2 separate regions of the Homo sapiens genome follow, and region 1 is linked to region 2. The links are contacts of gene promoters, found by promoter capture Hi-C in human tissues and cell types (Jung and others, 2019). All regions are on one chromosome and are shown on one strand. The core of a region is centred on a gene start or on the middle of the fragment in contact, and the rest is flanking DNA. Distances in the headings are between cores, read along the strand shown.

The links. The method cuts DNA at HindIII sites, captures the fragments that hold promoters and counts their contacts. A contact is called where the count stands out against the background at its distance.
Region 1: a contact is called between a fragment that was not itself captured here and the fragment with the promoter of UCK1 in region 2, in 1 of the 25 tissues and cell types used here (hippocampus).

What each region holds. Positions count from the first base shown.
Region 1 is chr9:132,687,058-132,691,384 of GRCh38, reverse strand. GTF3C4 (general transcription factor IIIC subunit 4) reads right to left here. Exons shown (of 5, transcript NM_012204.4): 4 at 4,058-4,146; 5 at 1-2,504. The coding sequence ends at 2,440. Among named protein-coding and RNA genes, the nearest start is that of GTF3C4, 19 kb to the right of the region's middle. The HindIII fragment of the contact is 5,405 bases long and covers 1-4,327 here.
Region 2 is chr9:131,528,265-131,532,844 of GRCh38, reverse strand. It overlaps UCK1 (uridine-cytidine kinase 1), which reads left to right and starts at 1,582. Exons shown (of 7, transcript NM_031432.5): 1 at 1,582-1,778; 2 at 2,200-2,359; 3 at 3,261-3,357; 4 at 3,575-3,717; 5 at 3,807-3,901. The coding sequence starts at 1,671. RefSeq lists silencers at 1,177-1,346, 1,487-1,846, 2,047-2,096 and enhancers at 1,512-2,425, 3,131-4,330. The HindIII fragment of the contact is 11,870 bases long and covers 1-4,580 here.

The sequences.
Region 1 (4,327 bases), core at 385-2,884, 1.2 Mb before region 2:
CGGTATAGAGGATGTAAGTTTGAATTGCAAGAGGCACCTGAAAAACGTCTGGTGCCATTCCCACTTTTCCAAGGTTGCACTGAGCAACACACTCCCATGAGGTATGCTGACCCTCAGAGAAATTCAGAAGCACTATTTGTGAGGCTGCCATTAACTCAAAATCTCCTGTTTCCCCAGCTCTGTAGCTTAACCTCCATGGGTGTGAGACAGGGACAAGGGCAGGGAAAGGCCTTCCAACTGGGTGTGTGGAAACCTGGGGGAGGCAGGTGGTGGCTAGATTTTAGGGTCTTAACAATGCCATTGGGTCCAGTCCCTGCAGTGAGTCCACGTTCTAGAAAAACTGTTGCCATGTTTACTCCTAGAGAGACATACAAAAAAATTTGGGAGATCCTCTCTAGTTACTCCCAATACATTTTCTCAAAAATGCACAACTGCTTTAAATAAAAACCTAAGTTTTAAATGGCAGCAGTCCAAAATTCCCTAGTAAGAACAAATCTCCACTGATTCTAATGGGGGGAGGGGAAGTGAAACTATGCCATAATGATTAAAACTGCAATAATTTTTTGACATGATCTCAATTTTTACTCTTATTTATTGTAAAGTGAAAAAACAGCTGCAGACACAAATGACTTCCACCATACAATGTTCTGAATTCTGTTACTCATGATTTCAATGCTGCTTGGTTTCTTTCTTGAAAATCAATAGTGGATAAACGCTCTTCTTGAAATTACCACCAAATGAGAAAAATAAGCAGAATAGCAAATACATGATTAAACATAGGAGACAAAACAGCAATTTGAATAGGAAACAGAAAACATTTCTGAGCAGACTGTTTAGAAGTGCCTCCAAGGGCTGGTCTGCACTACCTATCAATGCGGGGTGGGGGTGGGGAGGTTGCCGTCATGGTATCATCTAAGTACCAACATTTTTTTTCTTTTTTTTTTGAGGCAGTCTCCAGTCTTGCCCAGGCTGAAGTGCAGTGGTGCCACCTCGGCTGACTGCAGCTTCTGCCTCCTGGGTTGAAGTGATGCTCCTGCCTCAGCCTCCTGAGTAACTGAGATTACAGGCATGCGCCACCATGCCAGGCTAACTTTTGTATTTGTAGTAGAGACGGAGTCTCGCCATATTGCCCAGGCTGGTCTCGAACTCCTGGCCTCAAGTGACCCGTCTGCCTCGGCCTCCCAAAGTGCTGGGATTACAGGTGTGCACCACCACGCCTGGCTAATTTTTGTATTTTTAGTAGAGACACGGTTTCACCATGTTGGTTAGGCTGAACTCCTGACCTTGTGATCTGCCTGCCTTTGCTTCCCAAAGTGTTGAGAGTACAGGCATGAGCCACCAAGCCCAGCCCCATCTGAGACATCTTAACAGACCACTGGGTGGGTAGGGGTTGGGGGCAGAACCTGGATTCCAAATATCAAGGGACTGTGCAGAGGAAAGAAATTCCCAGGCTCTGTTCAACTTAATTGCACAAGCTTACAGCACCAGAGCTCAAGGGTCTCACTTCTGAGCTGTCCCTCTCTAGAAGTCTCCAGACAGACCCCTGGATACTAAATGAAACATCTGGAAATGTCAACATTAAAAATACTGAAAGTCTTATTACTAAAAGAGGAAAATATCTTTTTTTCCTCTGTGTACAAATAGCTCATCTAGGCTACCACAGTTAAGTCTGAAGCAGGGCTGTGGCGTGGGTGAACTACAGTATTTGACATCTTTATACGGATTAAGGAGTTGGGTCAGGAAACCTGATGACCCAGGAGAGAATGAAAAATAAGTCACAATTATTCATTATAATAGTCACCAGATCATTTGACACATTAAATTTTAGTCTTGGCTTCAACTTAAGAATATAGAGTTTTAGGAAAATGTTTTCCATATGCATAAAAAACAAGAATGGAGGGATGCAGACCAGCAGCTATTTTCTGAGAACAAAACATCAGCCCATGTGTTGCTTTACACTTTTAATCTCTGTTGGTACATCAGATGCCACGGACCAAGCAATTTAAGTTCTGGAGCCCGAAGGCAGTTCCAAACCAAAGCAAGGATTAAAACCTAACTCAACCCAGCAAGGTCCTTATCCAAGCTCTCTAGAAGAGACCATTCTGTTTCTAGAAATGACGGGACACTGTGTTCAAATTGCTTCTGTCAAGATACTTAAAAATAAGTAAGTGTTCCTCATTGGTTACAAAGCTGGGGCTAATGCTCATCTCAAAACGACTCCAACTCTCTGAGTCCAGCCATTTCAAAGGACATCCTTTAGTCTCTGGAAATGGAGAGTGCGATTCAGAAATGAGCTCCAGGGGCCCTCTTTACAATCACCAAGGACTTCTCTCCACTCGTGAGGGTCCGGCTTCCTCCAGTGCATCCTTCTCTTCAGGCTGGAGGAAGTTTTCTATGGCAGAGTTCATCATGCCCTTCCATCTTCCCGTCACTGATTATTTAGAAGACAGGAGAATCACAGAAAGGGCAGGGGCTTTGCAGTAACCTCTTAATCCAGTCGGGATCTGCAAAAGGAGGACAAGTGGTATCAACTGTTAGCTTCGGAAAAGACAGTCAAAAGGGATGAATACCGGACTGTAGCGTTGAGAGACGGGCATTCTGGTCCCACCTCTGCAATAAACCAGCTACATATCCCTAGACAAAGCACTTCACTTCTTTGGGCTTCGGTTTCTATCATTCCAAATGAGGCTGGACTAAACTTGTGGTTCACAAAGTTAAATGTAATGAAACAGGAAAATAAGGGTAATGAAGAATGTTTCATAAAGCTAAATTTATTCAATTTAAAGAAAGGAGTATATTCCGAGAATGTGTTCTTCATACATTGTTAATGTTAAAATATTCTCTCATAAAATTACAGTAATAGGAATTTTTAAAAAATGCTATGCCCTTGAGAAATAAAAATGCGGCAACACTGGTCAAATCCTCCTCGTCTTTCATCTATGAAAAACTCTACTCCAGTGCTCTTCTTAGATCCAGTAGCTTCTCATTCTTCTCAAAAGCTTTAAATGGCTAGACTCAAAGTCAATGGGTAAGATTTTTAAAGTTTCAATCTCTTCCAGATTTCCTGCCTAAGCAGCATATCCATTATCAATTGCAGTAAAAATTTAAAAGTTCCCAAAAATGTGTTTCAAAATAATCCATCAGGAGGAGGGAGGTGGGTGAGGGAACTACACATGAAACAGAAAAGGCCATGAGTCAATAATTTCTGAAGTGATGGGCACACAGTGGTTTATTATACCCTTCTCTTTCCTTTTGTGTATGATTGTTGTTTCCCTAATAAAAAGCTACAACAGAACACAAGGTATCAACATACCAACTTATGAGAATTAGAGAGCTTCTGCCAGTTTAGAGCAAAGCTCAAGAATTTATGTAGTTTTATATAGAATGCTGTTTGTTTCAGCTGAGAATAGAATATTCCCCTCAAAATACATATAAAATTGTATATTCTGTACCTAGTTAGCTCACTTGGTTAGAGTGCATTATTAACGTCAGGACAAAATCTGACATTTGCGTCATTATTAAATCACTAATTCCTGCCCACTCTACAATCTTATTTCCAGGTAGTTATCTCAGAAACGGATGACATTAGAACTATCAGGAAAGAGCACATAGACCAACCAGGAAAAAAACCCATCATGGCTACTGGAAGAATGACTCCAAGTGAATATCCTATTACTGGTTCAATAATGTCTTCGTATAAAGTATCATCCACAGAGTTTACATTCAAATATAATCTATCTATGTCATCTACTGAAACAAGCTCTGACATTTTTTGGAATGAATAATTTGTTTGCAGTGACAGAATAGCAACGCAGACAAACTTACATACTAAATGCAGTAAGCACTTCAATATGACATATTCCAATGGCCATGTTTTAGTTAGCTGTGGCTTCACAGTAACACCGTAAAGAGCAGCAGGGGCCTACTCCCCACCCCCCACCCCCGACAACACAATACCAAGAAGTGTAGAGCGTGACTAGAACTGTTATTCTGGGGCGCTGGCCCTCTGCCAGCATGTTCCACCCACCCACCCTCCCAAGTAAGGGAAAGCACTCACCTTCTGGAGCTGGATGCCGGGCAATGCTGTCATGGAGCAAACACCTTCTATATATCAAACTCTGGCAGGACTGGTAGGTTAAGAAGCACCTGAAAGAAGACAGACTGTATTGGCAAGGGAGAGGGTTTGCTCTACTAACACTCAGAAACTGATGTTTCTCCATCACAGAGAGTTATCATAAAACCACACATTAACCAAATGAAAGCATGATACTCATACATTCACATAACAATGCATCCCCCTGTGCACCAAAGCTGGCCAAACCAATAC
Region 2 (4,580 bases), core at 333-2,832:
GAGGCCAAAGCCATCGCAAGATTGATCGCATTTCCTGAGAGAAGGGGCACCCATGCCATGCACGGTTCTCAGTAGAGAACCCCAGGTTTGGTCAGGAGGCAGAAGCAGGGGCGAGGGGAGAGCCCAGGCCTGAGGCTTTCTTGGGGTTTCCATGGAAAAGGCCTGGCAGGGCAGGGAAAGAGTTTAAAATTGGCTAGTTTGAGTAATTCTAGCAGGCTCTGGGCTGCAGAGTGGTCTCTAGTCACCTGATACCTGGCCCTGGGTGACTTAGGGCAGGGAGAATCTTGCCTCCAAAGGCGAGAATTAGATAAGGAGGTAGCTGGGGCTGTAGACTTGGGGTCTTTTTTTTTTTTTTTTTTTTTTTTGAGACAGAGTCTCACTCTTTCCCCCAGGCCGGAGTGCAGTAGCGTGATCTTGGCTCACTGCAAGCTCCACCTCCCGGGTTCACACCATTCTCCTGCCTCAGCCTCCCGAGTAGCTGGGACCACAGGCGCCCGCCACCATGCCCGGCTAATTTTTTGTATTTTTAGTAGAGACGGGGTTTCACCATGTTAGCCAGGATGGTCTCGATCTCCTGACCTCGTGATCCACCCGCCTCGGCCTCCCAAAGTGCTGGGATTACAGGTGTGAGCCACCGCGTCCGCCCGGGGTTGTCTGTTTTGTATATGAAAAGCATGCTCTGCCCCGAGCCTTAGCTATCTCTCTCTCTTTTTTATTTTTGAGACGGAGTCTTGCTCTGTGGCCCAGGCTGGAGTGCAGTGGCACCATCTCGGCTCACTGCAACCTCCACCTCCCGGGTTCAAGCGATTCTCCTGCCTCAGCCTCCCAAGTAGCTGGGATTACAGGCGCCCGCCACCACGCCCAGCTGATTTGTTGCATTTTTAGTAGAGGCGGGGTTTCACCGTGTTCGCCAGGATGGTCTCGATCTCCTGACCTCGTGATCTACCCGCCTCAGCCTCCAAAAGTGTTGGGATTACAGGCGTGAGCCACCGCGCCCGGCTGGAAATCCATAATTTCAATGGATCAGAATTTGCCTGTCACGTTCTCTGTGCCAGGCACGGAGCGGGGGGGCGGCAGGGATGGAACCCGGCACATGGGCCTCTGCCTCCTTGGCGCGCTGTAGGCGCGAGCCTAAAGTCATCAGGCGACAGCCCCCGCCACGTTCCGGGGCGCCCCGACGGCTCCAGCAGCGGGTGGGGTGGGAGGCGTCCGGACAGTCCGGAGGCCTCGATGGCCAAGAGGAGCCTGGGCTGGAGGGGGCCAGGCCCGGGGGCGGCCGGGGGAGGGCCCGGGACTGGCGCAGAGGCAGCGCGAGGCAGAGGCAAGCACTCGGACGAAGGCGCAGCCCCAGCCTCGGGGTGCGGAACGGGCACCTTCCGGGCCACTTGAGTCTGAGACCTTGTAGCCGGCTCGAGGCCCGGGCGCAGCAGTCCCTGCCAGCCAGCTTTCGGCGCAATGGGACGCGGGCGCTCCTGGTGTGCCGGCCTCGGGCCCTGCACCCTCACGCATGCGCGGCCCCCCCCCCCCCGGTGGACTACAACTCCCGGCGTGCCCCGCGCGCCTCCCGGAAGTGATCGCTCCGGTTGCCTCCGACCTCGGCGCTGGGCGGGCGCGCCGGGCCTGGGGAAGGGGCGGGCGCGGGGACCCGATGCGCGGGAGCGGAGGCCGAGATGGCTTCGGCGGGAGGCGAAGACTGCGAGAGCCCCGCGCCGGAGGCCGACCGTCCGCACCAGCGGCCCTTCCTGATAGGGGTGAGCGGCGGCACTGCCAGCGGGAAGGTAAGGGGCCGAGCGGGCCGGGGTCTCGCCTCTCGCCGGTGCCTACGGGCGGCCCGGTCCAGAGAGGAGACCCCAGCCCCGGCCGAGGGGCCCCCTGCCAGGCAGGGGCAGGGCGCGGGAGCGAAGGGGCTGCAGGCCGCGATGGGCCGGGGCGGGCTGGGGCGGGCGAGGGGTTGGGGCGCTGGGCCTCGGGGCTCCCCCACAGCCTCTCCGCCGGCCGGGCTCCTCGGAGCCCCAAGTCCGTGCTAACCCCGTTGGGCCCCCGCGGCCCTTCCGCTGAGACCATCCACACCTGTTGGTGTCCTCCCGCCTTCCGAGCATACCCCCCAGGGGGCGGGTGGGTCAGTGTCTCCAGAAGCCGGCCCCGTGCCTGTCACAGGACGAGCGGTTCCAGGCGGGAATCCCGCTTCTGTGTCTCCAGTCGACCGTGTGTGAGAAGATCATGGAGTTGCTGGGACAGAACGAGGTGGAACAGCGGCAGCGGAAGGTGGTCATCCTGAGCCAGGACAGGTTCTACAAGGTCCTGACGGCAGAGCAGAAGGCCAAGGCCTTGAAAGGACAGTACAATTTTGACCATCCAGGTAAATCGCGAGCCCAACGATGTGGGGAGGGCAGACCCCATTCTGGGCGGCCGCTAACCAGCTGCGCTTGGGCCCAAGGTTGGATGGATGCAGACCCGCTTGGGCTGTTCCCCCAACTCGCCACGCAGCCTGCAGTGGAGTTGGCTGCACAGTGAAGTCAGGGGAACTTTGCTGAGTTCTCTGGGCCCTGAGTGTCCCCCCAGGAGCGTGGTTGGAGCCAGTCAGGAAGCCTGTTGCACTGTGGGGAGCCCTGCCCTGCCCTGCCACAACTGTGATCCTGGAGAAATCCTCCCATCTTCCCTTCCCACGTTGGGGCCTTTAGGGCCCTCCACACACACCTCTGCCCACTGTGCCCTCCCGTGCTTTGGGGCAAAGTCCTCAGAGAGGCCAGTGTGGGAGGCGGTAGGTAAACTAGTGCTGGTGGCTTGAAGCTCCGGGCCAGGTAAACGGGCAGATGCGGCAGGGAGACACCTGCCACTGCTAGAAGATTCCACCCTGGCTGGCTGGCATGGTCAGCCTTTTCCCAAGGACTTGTGGGAAGAAGGCCTGCAAAGCCGCAGTCTAACCAGTTAGTCCCAGAAAGAGAGAGAAGCAGAGGCCCAGCCTACCCACCTCCCAGGAAGAGCTGATCAGAAAACCCCTGTGTTCCGGCATCTCAGGGGCACAGAGCTTGGGCAGTGGCACAGCCCGAGAACAGCAAGGACAGGGTCATCCTGTGGTCTGCAGGGCTGCAGAGGGCACTGTTGCTACCAAACATACACTGCCGTAGTCCTAGTCTACCTGTGCTAGGGTTCTCGGTGTCCCCAGCACCCAGCTGTGCTGACCCCAGAGCAGAGAGGGTTCCCTGCTGTCCGCTGCACGAGGGCATCTGCCTGTCTTGCCTTTGTCTCCAACCCTGCAGATGCCTTTGATAATGATTTGATGCACAGGACTCTGAAGAACATCGTGGAGGGCAAAACGGTGGAGGTGCCGACCTATGATTTTGTGACACACTCAAGGTAAGCAGGTGGTTCTAGGGAGGGCCGAGGAGAGGGGCCAGCTAGGACGTCCCCTCGGGCTCACACAGACCTGCCTGGCGGCAGGCCTCCCCCGGTTGGTTTCTGTGGGTCCCCCACCCCTTCCCACAGTCAGTGTCCCTGCAATGGAAGCTGACTGTGTGTGTGGCCTGGAGACCCTGTGTCTGCAGCAGAGCCCCTTTCCCCGTGCGCCCCTCAGGTTACCAGAGACCACGGTGGTCTACCCTGCGGACGTGGTTCTGTTTGAGGGCATCTTGGTGTTCTACAGCCAGGAGATCCGGGACATGTTCCACCTGCGCCTCTTCGTGGACACCGACTCCGACGTCAGGCTGTCTCGAAGAGGTAAGGCGGCCGCGGGCCTCCGTGCCTGCCTGGCCGAGGCTGGCGGCAGGTCCTGAGGTCTGAAGCACGCCTGCCCCTTGCCGCTGCAGTTCTCCGGGACGTGCGCCGAGGGAGGGACCTGGAGCAGATTCTGACGCAGTACACCACCTTCGTGAAGCCGGCCTTCGAGGAGTTCTGCCTGCCGGTACCTGTGCTCGCTGCTTCAGAGCCCATTTTCCCCTTTCACAAGGACACATGGGACCCAGTACTGTGAGAGGGCTTAGTGCTGGGTGACAGTGATCTGATTGAAAAAAAGGAGAAGAATTTGGCTCATTATGGCCACATACCCTGGGAGTAGTTCTCAGCTGTAAAAACATTCTCTGTGCCTGCTCCTCCCTCTGCCTAAAAAAGCCCCATATCTCCCCCACATTCACACTGGCCGCTTCCTCCCTGCCTCAGGCCCTTGCCCAGCGTCCCCATTCAACACTGAAAACCCTCTGCACCCAGCGCCAGCCTCTCTGCCTGCTTCCTTTTTCCGGGGCACTTACCATCATCTGACACGTCCTGGGTGCTTATTCCCCGCAGAGTGGGGAAGCCCAGGAGCACTTTAGTCTGTTCACTGCCAAGGCCGGGATCTGGCCCTCAGAAGGTGCTTCAGAGCTGCTCCTCCAGGGTCTGTGACCCCAGGCTGCTCTGGGCCAGTGCTCTGAAATCTTGGAGTGAGCGCTGTGCCCAGATCCCAGCTGGCTCGCAGAGAGCAGGAACTCCCCGCTGCACACCCACCTGTCTTTTCTCCATTTCTCCATCTTGTGTTTCTGGCTTGGTGGGACTCGTGGCTCTACTCAAATGGGAGTGTTTTGCACGGGAACATTTTGCCTGTTAAG